Linked DNA regions of Homo sapiens: region 1 is linked to region 2. The links are contacts of gene promoters, found by promoter capture Hi-C in blood cells and fetal thymus (Javierre and others, 2016). All regions are on one chromosome and are shown on one strand. Each heading gives the region's core, a stretch centred on a gene start or on the middle of the fragment in contact. The rest is flanking DNA. Distances are from core to core; before and after follow the strand shown.

Evidence for each region. Contacts are between HindIII fragments. The CHiCAGO score rates a contact against its expected background, and 5 or more counts as called.
Region 1: a contact is called between a fragment that was not itself captured here and the fragment with the promoter of PDLIM3 in region 2, in 1 of 17 cell types (megakaryocytes). The highest score is 5.0, in megakaryocytes.

The regions. Positions count from the first base shown.
Region 1 is chr4:186,017,228-186,022,975 of GRCh38, forward strand. LOC124900830 (a long non-coding RNA gene) reads right to left here and starts at 5,738. Exons shown (of 3, transcript XR_007058420.1): 1 at 5,701-5,738. It overlaps LOC124900829 (a long non-coding RNA gene), which reads left to right and starts at 85. Exons shown (of 2, transcript XR_007058418.1): 1 at 85-160; 2 at 1,226-1,654. The HindIII fragment of the contact is 2,169 bases long and covers 2,398-4,566 here.
Region 2 is chr4:185,531,787-185,537,135 of GRCh38, forward strand. It overlaps PDLIM3 (PDZ and LIM domain 3), which reads right to left and starts at 3,721. Exons shown (of 8, transcript NM_014476.6): 1 at 3,556-3,721. The coding sequence starts at 3,648. The HindIII fragment of the contact is 10,243 bases long and covers 2,810-5,349 here.

The DNA.
Region 1 (5,748 bases), core at 2,232-4,731, 490 kb after region 2:
TATGCCATTGAGTGGATAAAATGAAATGGCATCATTGTGCTTATCCCATAGGAAGCAACCCATACATGACAGATACTGCTATTATAACTCAGCACCATCCATTCAGTCATCGTGTGGTCTTCATCTTTTGAAGCCTCATTTTCTCATCTGTAGAACTTGCGTGAGTATTAAGAAGATGTCTGAGGATGCCAGGTGCTAGAGCTGCAGAGAGAACCTGCAGAGAGAAGGGGTGTTGGTTGTGTTGGTTATTAGGGTGTCTCAGGCCATCGTTCAGCACCCTGACCTCTTCCTTCAAGCTGAGCCCTGGGGAAGGGAGCAGAGGGGCATGAATAGGTCAGTTTTGGGGCCCGCCCTATGACCTCCACATCTCTCTTCTTCTTTCCTCTTCTCCAAATTTTAGAATGTGCATCCTTTCCAATCTTTTTTGTTGTTAATGTAGTTGTTTGTTCATATGCCAGTACCGCAGCTACAGAGGCCCTGAAATGCCAAGAATTAACTTCTTTTCTTCCCTATACTGTTTTAAAGCACAGGTTTTGTTATAATTTTGATAGGGCAAGACCAGTAGATAGGAGATGACTACCATTGAAAAAAAAGTCTGATGCTCACAGATGCCAAGAGGAGTGAGCGCCTACAGTGTGTGGCCACACGGGTAGCACCCGGGTCAGGCAGGAGGCAGAGTGAGCAGGGGGAGAATGCTGGGGAGAGGATTCCATGGGAAGGAGCAGGCAAGGCAGGGTGAGCAGGCTCAGGGTGGAGAGCTTGAATAATTTCAGCAGACTCTGGGCATAGGGCCTGTCCCTAACTGTCTGGTACCTGGTTTGGGGTGATCAGGGCAGGGGGAATCATGTTGAATTTGAGATCCCCAGTAGAGGACGTGGTTAGGGGCATGGGCTTTGGATTGGTTCATGTGCATTTGAAAGGCTCTCTCTGGAGGCGGGGGTCCTTCACTGTCTCTAGGAATCGGCTAACTAGAGACAGTAGTAAGCTAACTGACTGCCAGTCCCCCCAGGCTCAGCCAGACTCCAATGTCAAACCATAAATATACATAAAATAAAAAGACATGGTTAGACACATGCATTCTGCAGTGTCAAATAACACTTGGGCAATGGAAAATTCATATCTAGTCTCCCAGGTGGGAAAAAAAAAAAAAAAGGAAATATCAAGAACGGTTACTATTGCAAAGTGTTATCCCACTAAACACCCTCTATCTCTCTGTGTTTTGTAGCATGAAGCTTTGTTACCATGACGTCACATGCTATCCATGGGGTTTTGTTGCTGTTACAGAGGTCCCCGTGATATGCTGTCCTGCATTTCTAGACATGTCTTTGGTTTGGAAGCCTGACACCACCAAAAGAGAACTGCAGTGCAAATGGTTTTGAAATCCTCCACTAATCATCCTAGAAGCTCAGCTAGTTCCAGGGCCTTCCATAATTCCAATTCCAAAGGACTTCATATCAAAACATTCTTTGCTTGTTTTGCTACCCCCCAAGATTGCATTTATCCCTTCTCTGGAGATTTTAACAGTTGGTGAGCTACCCTAGGCTCTGGTGGCACCTTCTATAAGTGACCCTTGACCTTCCACTTTCCTGAACTGATGAAAACATAGCTGTGTTAGCTCAAATAAATATTTCCTAACTGCCTGCTTTGGGGAAAATGCTGTGTGAAATGCTTGATGGATTTATTTATTCAACACCTGTTTATGAAGTGTTGATTATGTGCTAGACACTTTTGCAGACATTGAGGATACAGTAGTGGACTAAATAGACAAAGCTCCCTCATGGAGCTTATTTTGTAGTGGGGTAGGCGGGTGCTGGCAATAAACAAGGTGAAAATATATGGCATGTCAGGTGGTGATAAAAGCCAGGGGGTAAAATGATGCCACGATGGGGGAGAGGAGGCCTGCCACTTTAAATAAGACAGTAAGAAAAGGTCTTTGTGAAGGTGACATTTTAGCAAAGATTTGAAGGATGTCTCTGAGAGAGGATTGTTGGAGATGGACACAAGAGGGATTGAGCAAGAAACACAAGCAGTGGCAGCTGAAACCTGGGTTTCTCAAAATGGAGTTTATGGAGAGTGTGTGTAACAACAATAAGATAAAAAAAGGAGAGATATAAGATCAGTGCCTTCACCTCAAGAACTTCATGGTCTCATTAGAGAGGTTTCCTAACAACAAACCATTAGAAATGAGACAGAGCAGGGATCCCTCTTAGGGGCCTGCAAGTCCCTCAAGCATGAAAGAAAAATCTTGAATTTCTTCAAGGGGAATTCCAGGCACCCAGCTATCCCTGAAGAGTAAATGAGCAACTTGACCAGCAAGAAGGTAATAGTAGCTTAAAACAATAACCAAGGGAGTTGAAGTCATGGGGTGTTTGGTAAAGTCATGGGGTATTTAGATAAAGCTTCACCTCCTTACCCAATTGCAAACCCCAACATCTTTGAATCCACCTGTGACCTGTGGAACCCTGCTTCATGACACCCTACTTTTTTAGGCCAAACCAATATAGAGCCTCAATATATTAATTGACTTCTTTGCCTGCAATCTCTGCTTCTCCAGATTTAAAATCTCCTACCTGTAAGCCACCGAGAGGTCAGGTCTCAATTGTAAGCTGCCCAATTCTCTTTCCTTGGCATCCTGCAAATAAACACCTTGCTTTCCCCTGCTGCAAACCACGGTGTGGATGTTTGGCCTCACCCCACAGGAGAGCAGACACCAGTTCAGTTCAGTAACAGAAATAGGTCATTAAAGATGGATTCTGTCTACAGTTCACCCAAGCAAGTGAAGTCTGTGTTAAAATACTCAATAGTATCTCTCTTAGCTCTTGCCAGAATGAACATGAAGTCAATGACAGGTTGGTAACTCATAAAATTAAGGCAGATTTCCACACTCATCGTCACCACTCTCACCTAACACTTGGTCAGCATCTACTGTAAACAGTTTACTCTACTGAGTGTAGGAAGAGGCACAGTCGTGAGTGTGAGCTTCCTGAGTGGGGACGTCCTGCGCTGTCACTTTTAAGGAAGGCTTCACGTAGGCCATGCTGGAACCCAGAGTGCCTGAGACAACCGCTAGGGAGGAGACTTCCTGAGGCCTGTGGCTGAAGGAGAATGAGCCAGGGCTTCTCACAGGCAGACATGGGTGTAAAGGGAAACGAGGGAAGGAGTTTGGCCTTCATGTGCTGGTCCTTACCCTGGGTCGATGGCGGTGGATGCAGGGCTAGGTGTGAAAGAGACAATCCTACTTTACTGAAGGTCTTGGGAGCTCAGCAGCGTGGACTTGCCGGGATTCAGCTCCCTGGGCCCTGCCCTCTTCTGCAATATGGACAGCAACCGGGTAAGGAGGCGTTGAGAGAAGAGACTCGTAGAAGGGCAGGTGTGCAGAACCGAACATGGAGGGCATCGGTGAGACGTCCCAAGGCTTCCAGGAATAGCTGCAAAGAGCACAGGGCTGCCTGGAGAGCCTGTGTCTGCAGCAGAAACCAGCACCTGCAGGACAGGCCATGGCTGTGAGGGGGATGTTGGAGGTGCTCAGCTTACTGAGCTCTGGAGCCAGCATCATATGTGAATATGTGTTAGCACGTCGTCCAGCACTGTGTGATTCGTAGTAAATCTTTACAGAATTGAAATCTATCTGGTGTCTCTAGAAATTGACTTGAAGCACAAGGTAGCAGAAAGTACTTGTCAGAAGAAGACAGATGCTCAGTTCGGAGGAGGGAGAAACAGGGAACCCAGAGGAGGGCGAAGGCGTCACCTGTGAGGCCAGGCGTGTGGCCGTGAGCAGCCCCGTTGTGTTGCAGAGGTTTCACAGATCAGTAGTTACTGTCTTCATCTGGACTATAGAGAGCACATATCACATAGGCCACAAAGCCTGTCATTCTCCACAGTAGAAAACTTTTACAGGCTGTTTTTATCTCTAGAAACACTGGATTGTTTGGCAGTAACAAGAAACATCTTTCCACCCACACACGCCCACGGAAGCATGTTGAACATCAGTGAAGTACGTTACACTGGGGATCGCACCGCGTATCTTCTTATATAGCAGTTTTTATATAGTAGTTCATTAGGGGAGCAGAGATTTTTTTTCTCTCTCTCCCCTCCCTTTGTAATTTTCAGAATAGCAAATAGCATGATCAAAGCCATCATCTCCTGTTTTCCTTTCTCTAGAGTTTAAATAAATCAGGCTGAAAAATCTCTGAGCCTATGATAACAATCACTCATTGATAGCTTATCACTTAGGAAGAGGTTTCAAGGGCTAAAAGACGTAATGAAACCCCAACGCAGAACATGTAAATGAACAGACTGTCTCTTTCCCCTCATACATCCCACGCTACTCAGTACAGAGGCCAAAGCTCTGTGAATGCACAGGGCTGGGGAACGAGATGCCATCTGGAACTGGAGATGCAAAGCCACATCCCATCCCTGATCCGTATGGCCCAGGCCCAGCCTGGGAAGGTGTGGGGTATACTGACTGCGGGGGTCCCATCACTTCTCCTAGAACGGGTTCTCCGCGCGCTGTGCAGAGAACAATACTGTCCTCTAGCGCTCAGAGATCAGAACTGGAAATCAAGAAGCTTGTTTTTATTTCTCCTCCCATATTGTCAGTGATTCCCAGAGCAATATACCACTCCCAAAGCAAAGGGAATGGATTGACACAGTTCACAAAATCCAGGGCAGAATCATCCTGGCTTTGCCTCCCTTGTCTGGGTAATGACAGCTGCAGGGTTTTATCTGGTCTTTGGGGCAGTGCAGCATGTATTTAATCTATCCTTAGTTCAGCTTTGCCAAGGGAGAATCAAGATTTTTCTATCTTGATTAAATATGCATGTAATTTGTCATCAGCTAAATGAGCAAACAATATCTCCTTGTCCACCTCATAGACTTATGATGAGAATCAAATAAAAGCATAAAACAATGTAAAAGTATAAAACTGAATAAATGAGTTATTATTGAGGAAAATGCACATTTATCTGTTATTTAAAACACTTCTTTAATTCACTTCTATGTTTCAGGATTTTTACCTAGATATATAACATCACCATTTATATACATGCAATGAAAACATAATTTATATTCTATGTAATTACGTCCTTTCTAGCCCTACCGATAAGTCTTACCACGAAGAAAATGCTTTATTTTTTTGTGACTTTAAACTCTGGACAATATGTGTCTTCAACCTCTTATAATTCACCCACAGGGATTCTCTTCAAGGATGGTATAACCCACATTTCCAGAGCAGCCACACAGGACAGCCGCCTCTGCACAACCATTACCATAAGCATGCGTGTGTTTGGTACAGACAGAAATGGATGATGGGGAGTGTGGGCCCTACGTTGGAGAAGGTTATATTTGCTACCAGATACCACCACCAATTTGCTTAAAATTGCTTTCAAGCTATTAAAATACTGAGAAGGGGATGATCATAAATACTTAGATGGCTGAATTTTTTGCTCTGTTAGGATAAAAATTGGATGGTAATACTTGGCTTCAAATTATACAACAGAGTAGTGACTTTTCTCACCCTTGCAAGAAAAATATTCTCAATGAAATATCAGATTCAGAAACAAAACAAGAGAAAATGCCTTTTCATATGCTTCAGTAGGGAAATGGGATGCAAAGGAACACTTCTAATAAGGAAACATTTGCTTAAAGTGATTTTTAAGGAAAGTTCTTTTATAATGACCTTTAAAATAGTTAAGATCATACCTGGTGGCCAGGCGCGATGGCTCATGTCTGTAATCCCAGCACTTTGGG
Region 2 (5,349 bases), core at 2,471-4,970:
AGAACTTATTTAAAACTGACACATCAGCCAGGCGTGGTGGCTCACGACTGTAATCACTTTGGGAAGCTGAGGTGGGCGGATCGCCTGAGGTCAGGAGTTTGAGAGTAGCCTGGCCAACATGGTGAAACCCTATCTCTACTAAAAAAAAAAAAAAAAAAAAAATTAGCTGGGTATGGTGGCGGGTGCTTGTAGTCCCAGCTACTTGGAAGGCTGAGGCAGGAGAATCGCTTGAACCCAGGAGGCAGAGGTTGCAGTGAGGCGAGATCGCGCCACTGCACTCCAGCCTGGGAGACAGAGCGAGACTCTGTCTCAACAAAACAAAACAAAAACATGACAAATCAACTCACAATAAAACAATTCTCACTTATCTTTTTGTGAAATATTTTTGAGAACACATTCTATACCTATTTATAATAAAGTCATGTAAAAAGGGAACAATCTAGTCAATCATTCATACCGTGTCTATATTTATTCTACAACACATATGCTCTACTAGGCACTGTGCTAGGCCCTGAATGGCCCCCAGATTAGAAGGTTTCTGCCTTCGGGGAATGTGCAATCTGGTGGGATACAGATGCAGTGGAACATCTGGTACAGGCATGACATAAGGAGGGGTTATACAGGCCGAAAGCTACAGTAATCAACCGGATGAGATGGTTGTTACTGAAAGAAGGCTTGGGGAGAGGCATTTGAGTGGTTTCCACAGGCACAGAGGACAGTGGTGTGGTGTGGGGAAAAATGGTATCAGGAGCAAAGACACGTCAGGGAAATCGTAAGTAGTCCAGAGGGCGGTACCACTGCCTACGTGTGGAACAAGGGGAGGAAAGGGAGAGACAACAAAGGGAGAGGAAAGAAATGAAGTTAGCAACTCAAATTGGGATAGGAGATGGTGAAAAGTCATGAATGTTGTGCAAAGACACGCATTTCACTCTCTACAAACAAGTGATGCCGCTGAAGGATTTTTAAGAATGAGAAAGGAGCAATTTGGCATTTTCCAGAGACGGTAAGAATATGCTGTGTGAATTGGACGGGGGAGCCAAATGTCTAGGCGTGGAGCTAGGAAATCTTGAAGAGGGACAGTAGTAGAAAAAATGGAAAGTGGCAGATGTTGAAGACAGCATCAATAAGGCCAGTGATGAACAGGATGGCACAAAACAACTCTTTAGAAATATTGGAACAGGTGTCCATTTTCACATGTGGCCTTCAGAATGCAGGCTTTGGAGGCACACAGACCTAGCGTCAGAGCCTGTCCCACTGCTTGTGATCATCGGCGGGTTAATAAATCTTTTGAAGCCTCATTCTCCTCATTTGCAAAAGGGGATGTCACTACTGCTACTCTCCTAAAGATTATTGTGAGATTTCAGTGAGTTCGTGCACATAAAAGGTTCCCATCAATGCCTGGCAAGCAAGAGAGTACAATAACACACTTACAACCTCACACACTGCCTTTCAAAATGGTGTTAAAATGTTAAAAGCAGTACAACAATTCACCATTTAACAATACTGATAGTTATTTTTCTGTAATACTTTTCTGTAATACTTTTTATTCTTTTCCTTAACAAATTTCAATATTCTTATCATTTCAGTGAAAATATTCTGAATTAGGTGTTCACTAAAGCATAAAAGTTCTTATTGAATAAATAAATGTTCTTATTTATTCAATAAGAATCTACTATATACCTGGCTTTGGGGACACTTGGGATACAAAAATGATTTGGTTTTACCTGCTGTCCTAGAATTAATTAAAGAGAAAAGCCATAATCAAGTGAAATCATATTTGGTCATAAACTGTTATTGAACCAAATGTCAAAAATGAGTGATACAAATTAGTTATGAGTTAGGAATTCCAGATAGAATTGGTTTCCCTAATAATAACTGCCATTATATCAAATATATTTACCAATAGCTATTGTAGTCCAACTCTGGAATGTAAGTACTGCTTTAAAATAAACATTTATAATGTCAACAACTCAAAATTTCAAGCATATGATTAATTATATTGACATACGATTATACTATAATAGCAAAATATTTCTTTTATAAACACCTTAAAAGTTTTCGTGACAAAATTATTTTGGTTAGAATTTAATATAAATATGATTTATTCTGTGTTAGGATTCAAAAGCTTATTCAATTTAAATAAAAACCATACTCCAGAAACTAAAACATTTCTTAGTAGATATAACGGAAACTGTTTTTGTTGGTAAATCTATAATAGGAATTGCTTGGCCCAGGTCACTGAAGCATTTTCTGCTTACTTTACTTAGGAACGTTTTTGGGGGTATGTTGAACAGTTTTCATGTTTCATATAAAAACACGTCAGATGTGTTTATATGTTTTTGAAAAATGTAAAACAAGGCTTGAAACGTTCCATTGTATGCGTCTGTAGGATACACATTTTGACATATTTTTAAAAGGATGTTGGTTCCCAAATCTCATAGGCATATATAAATAAAACAGAATTTAAAAGGTATTACCTTGTTCAAAATCTGTATGAGCAGATCAATCAGATTATAACACATACAATTATAAAATATGGCATGAGAAGAATACAAGAAAATAAAGTATAATACTCTGCAACTAAAAGTATAATATTCTGGAAGTTTACGCCTTTAGGTATTAAATGTTTTATATGTGATAACTGAAATAATACATTAATTTTCTATGAAGAAAAACATTGTGTTAGAAAAAAACCAGCTAGACCAAATAATGCTTTAGAATTAATTCTACAAATTTACTGACAGGAGAGAAACCCTGAGGTTTTATTTTTACCTTGTTTTCTCATTAGACAGTAGAGAACACCAAGTAAAGCTTGACTTTGACATTAAAGCATTATTTTCCGTTTTAGGCTGAGTGGTTTACTTTGCATCAGGTAAACTAAACTGTCTGCCACGTTTTCTTTGTAGCTAGAGTTAGAAGTTGGTAATTCCTAAGCCAAGTTCTCAGCTTTGGAAAACGTGCTCAAAATGCCTGGAAACTGAGGAGTGAGCATTAGGAAGACTTCCCCTGTCTGGGCTGATAGGAGCGGCTCCAGTTTGGCCAACGCAGGTCGTGCCCCGCGAACAGCGCGCTGCTGAACTTTTCATCCGGACGAGAAAAACGCTCAGATGCGCGCCAGCTCCAGGGAATGCCGGGGGGTGCCAGTCCCTCGCCTCTCCCACCCGGGACCCATCATTTGTTACGGAAGGGCGATGGGGTGTGTTTTATTTCTGTTATCACATATAAAACATTTAAAACCTAAAGGGGAGGAGGCACTCGAGCCTGGCAGCCTCGCCTTCCCTGAGCCCAGTGGCTCTCCTCGGAAAGTCGCTGCGGACCCAGAGGATGGGACACCTTTAGAGCGGACTTTGTCAAATCTCTGAGCCGCTCCGCAGCCACTTGACGGAGTTGCCGCCGCCCCCGGAGCTGGGCGCCGAAGCCCGGGAGCCAGCAGCGCCCCGTCCGCCCGCCCTCGCGCGCTTTCTGGCCGCCCTCGGCCCCGGGGCATCCACTGCGTCCCCCCGGACGCCGCCGGAGTCCCCACCTCGCAGCAAAAGCAAGAATGCCGACACCTACCCTGGTGATGACCAAAGGCTGGTTGAAGTCTATGCCCCCTGAGAGCCTGAAGCCCCAGGGCGCAGGGCCCGGGAGGATCACCGTCTGGGGCATGCCGCCTTCCTCCCGCCCACCGGGCTCTAAGTGTCCCCGCGCAGGGCAGCCACTCCGCGCCGGGCGGCGTCCTGGCCCCGACCCGGGCGGGGGCGCTTTATCCCCGCTGGGGGTGACGTCACCGCCCCGCCGTCCTCCCCGCCCCCTCCCACCCCGGAGAGCTCCAACTTTGGAAGCGAGAGCCGCGCCAGCCCCGCGGGAGTGCGCAGCCCGGCCGGCTGGGGCAGCCTCCCGGGCCGCGGCGGGCGCGGGGGCTTCGGGTTACAGCGTCCGTCGCTCTCTTGAAGTCACACCTGTCTCCCTGTTTATCTTCTGCTTGGAGCGCAGCAGTGCACTTTGTTGGAAGCGAAAGCAGCCAGACCACAGCCTCCATGCTTTCAATTAAAACGAGCATCATCGATACAATAAGTTATTTAGCAGTTTCGAGTGCGTTAATATTTACTTACGACCTCTGCGGCTTTGGCCAAATTACTTAATGTCCTTTTAAATTTTTATTTTATTTATTTATTTTTCTTAGAGACCGGGTCTCCACTTTGTTGCCCAGGCTAGTCTTGAACTCCTGGGCTCAAACAATCTTCCCACCTCAGCCTCCCAAAGTGCAGGAGAGTCTGGCCGGGGTCCTGTGGTAGTCTCAGTGTGGACTCAAGTATTTCTGGTGTTACGCGTTGGGATGTTGTGATTCCCAAAGGGAGAGGGGAGAATGAGGGAAGAGAAATAAGAAATGCTTTAAACACTCAAGAATAAGGGTCTTGGACTTAATGCCCCATATGATAGGGTCGTATTGGTCCAGGAGGACAGAGCTGCAGCAGACTTTTAAGAGGGCAGTCTGTTTGGAAGCAGTTTTAAGACTGATGGAGGAAAGAGAAAGGAGATGCAGAAAGCAGTAAGCAGTAAGCAGTAAGCAAAGCGAACCAGCCTGGGCAAATGTAAATCACAAAGGTAGGATGGGCATTACTTTGTCCGCTGTGGTGGATTACATAAAAGTCCCAGGGGATAAGCACTTTCTAGCTCCACACATTTCCCAGTGCCCCATCTATGCTGGACCATCGAGGAGCTGAACATTGTGTGTCCTGCTGACTGCCTGTTTGGGCTGTGGCTGTATCACTGCAGAGCACATTTCTTCAGTCAGCTGCTGGCTCTGTCTGCGTGGTGCAGACATACACGTGCACACACACAGAGGTCCATTCAGAAAAAAAAAATCAGACAAGTCATTTGGTGTTGTGTAATTATAGTAATTGTTTTTACCTTACTTCACGAGCTGGCTTATATAAACAGCTGATTTTTTCTTTGCCTTTTTGCTGGTCATTTTGGCATCATTTAGATGTAGCCAATATCTATACAATATCCACATAATATCTGATGAGTTCTTTCTTTTTGTTTTTTTTTTTTTTTTTTGGAGACAGAGTCTTAATCTGTCACCCAGGCTTGATGAGTTCCTAAGGCTTTGCAGAGAGTGTGGAAAGCAGGGACATGAGATGGGCAGTTTTCCTACATCCTGCTCTTCACGGAGACCAGCAGGAAAGTGCTCAGAAGTGACTGTTAAGGTAGAGGTGAGACTAGCTGGGAGGGAGAATTCTAAGGAAGAAGCACTGGCTGCATCCTAAATGGTCCTAGAAAATCCTGCTTTGGGTTTGGGTACTGTTCTAAGAAGAGGTTCTTTTTGCATGACTTTGATTTTTTTTTAAGTTTACTTATTTATTT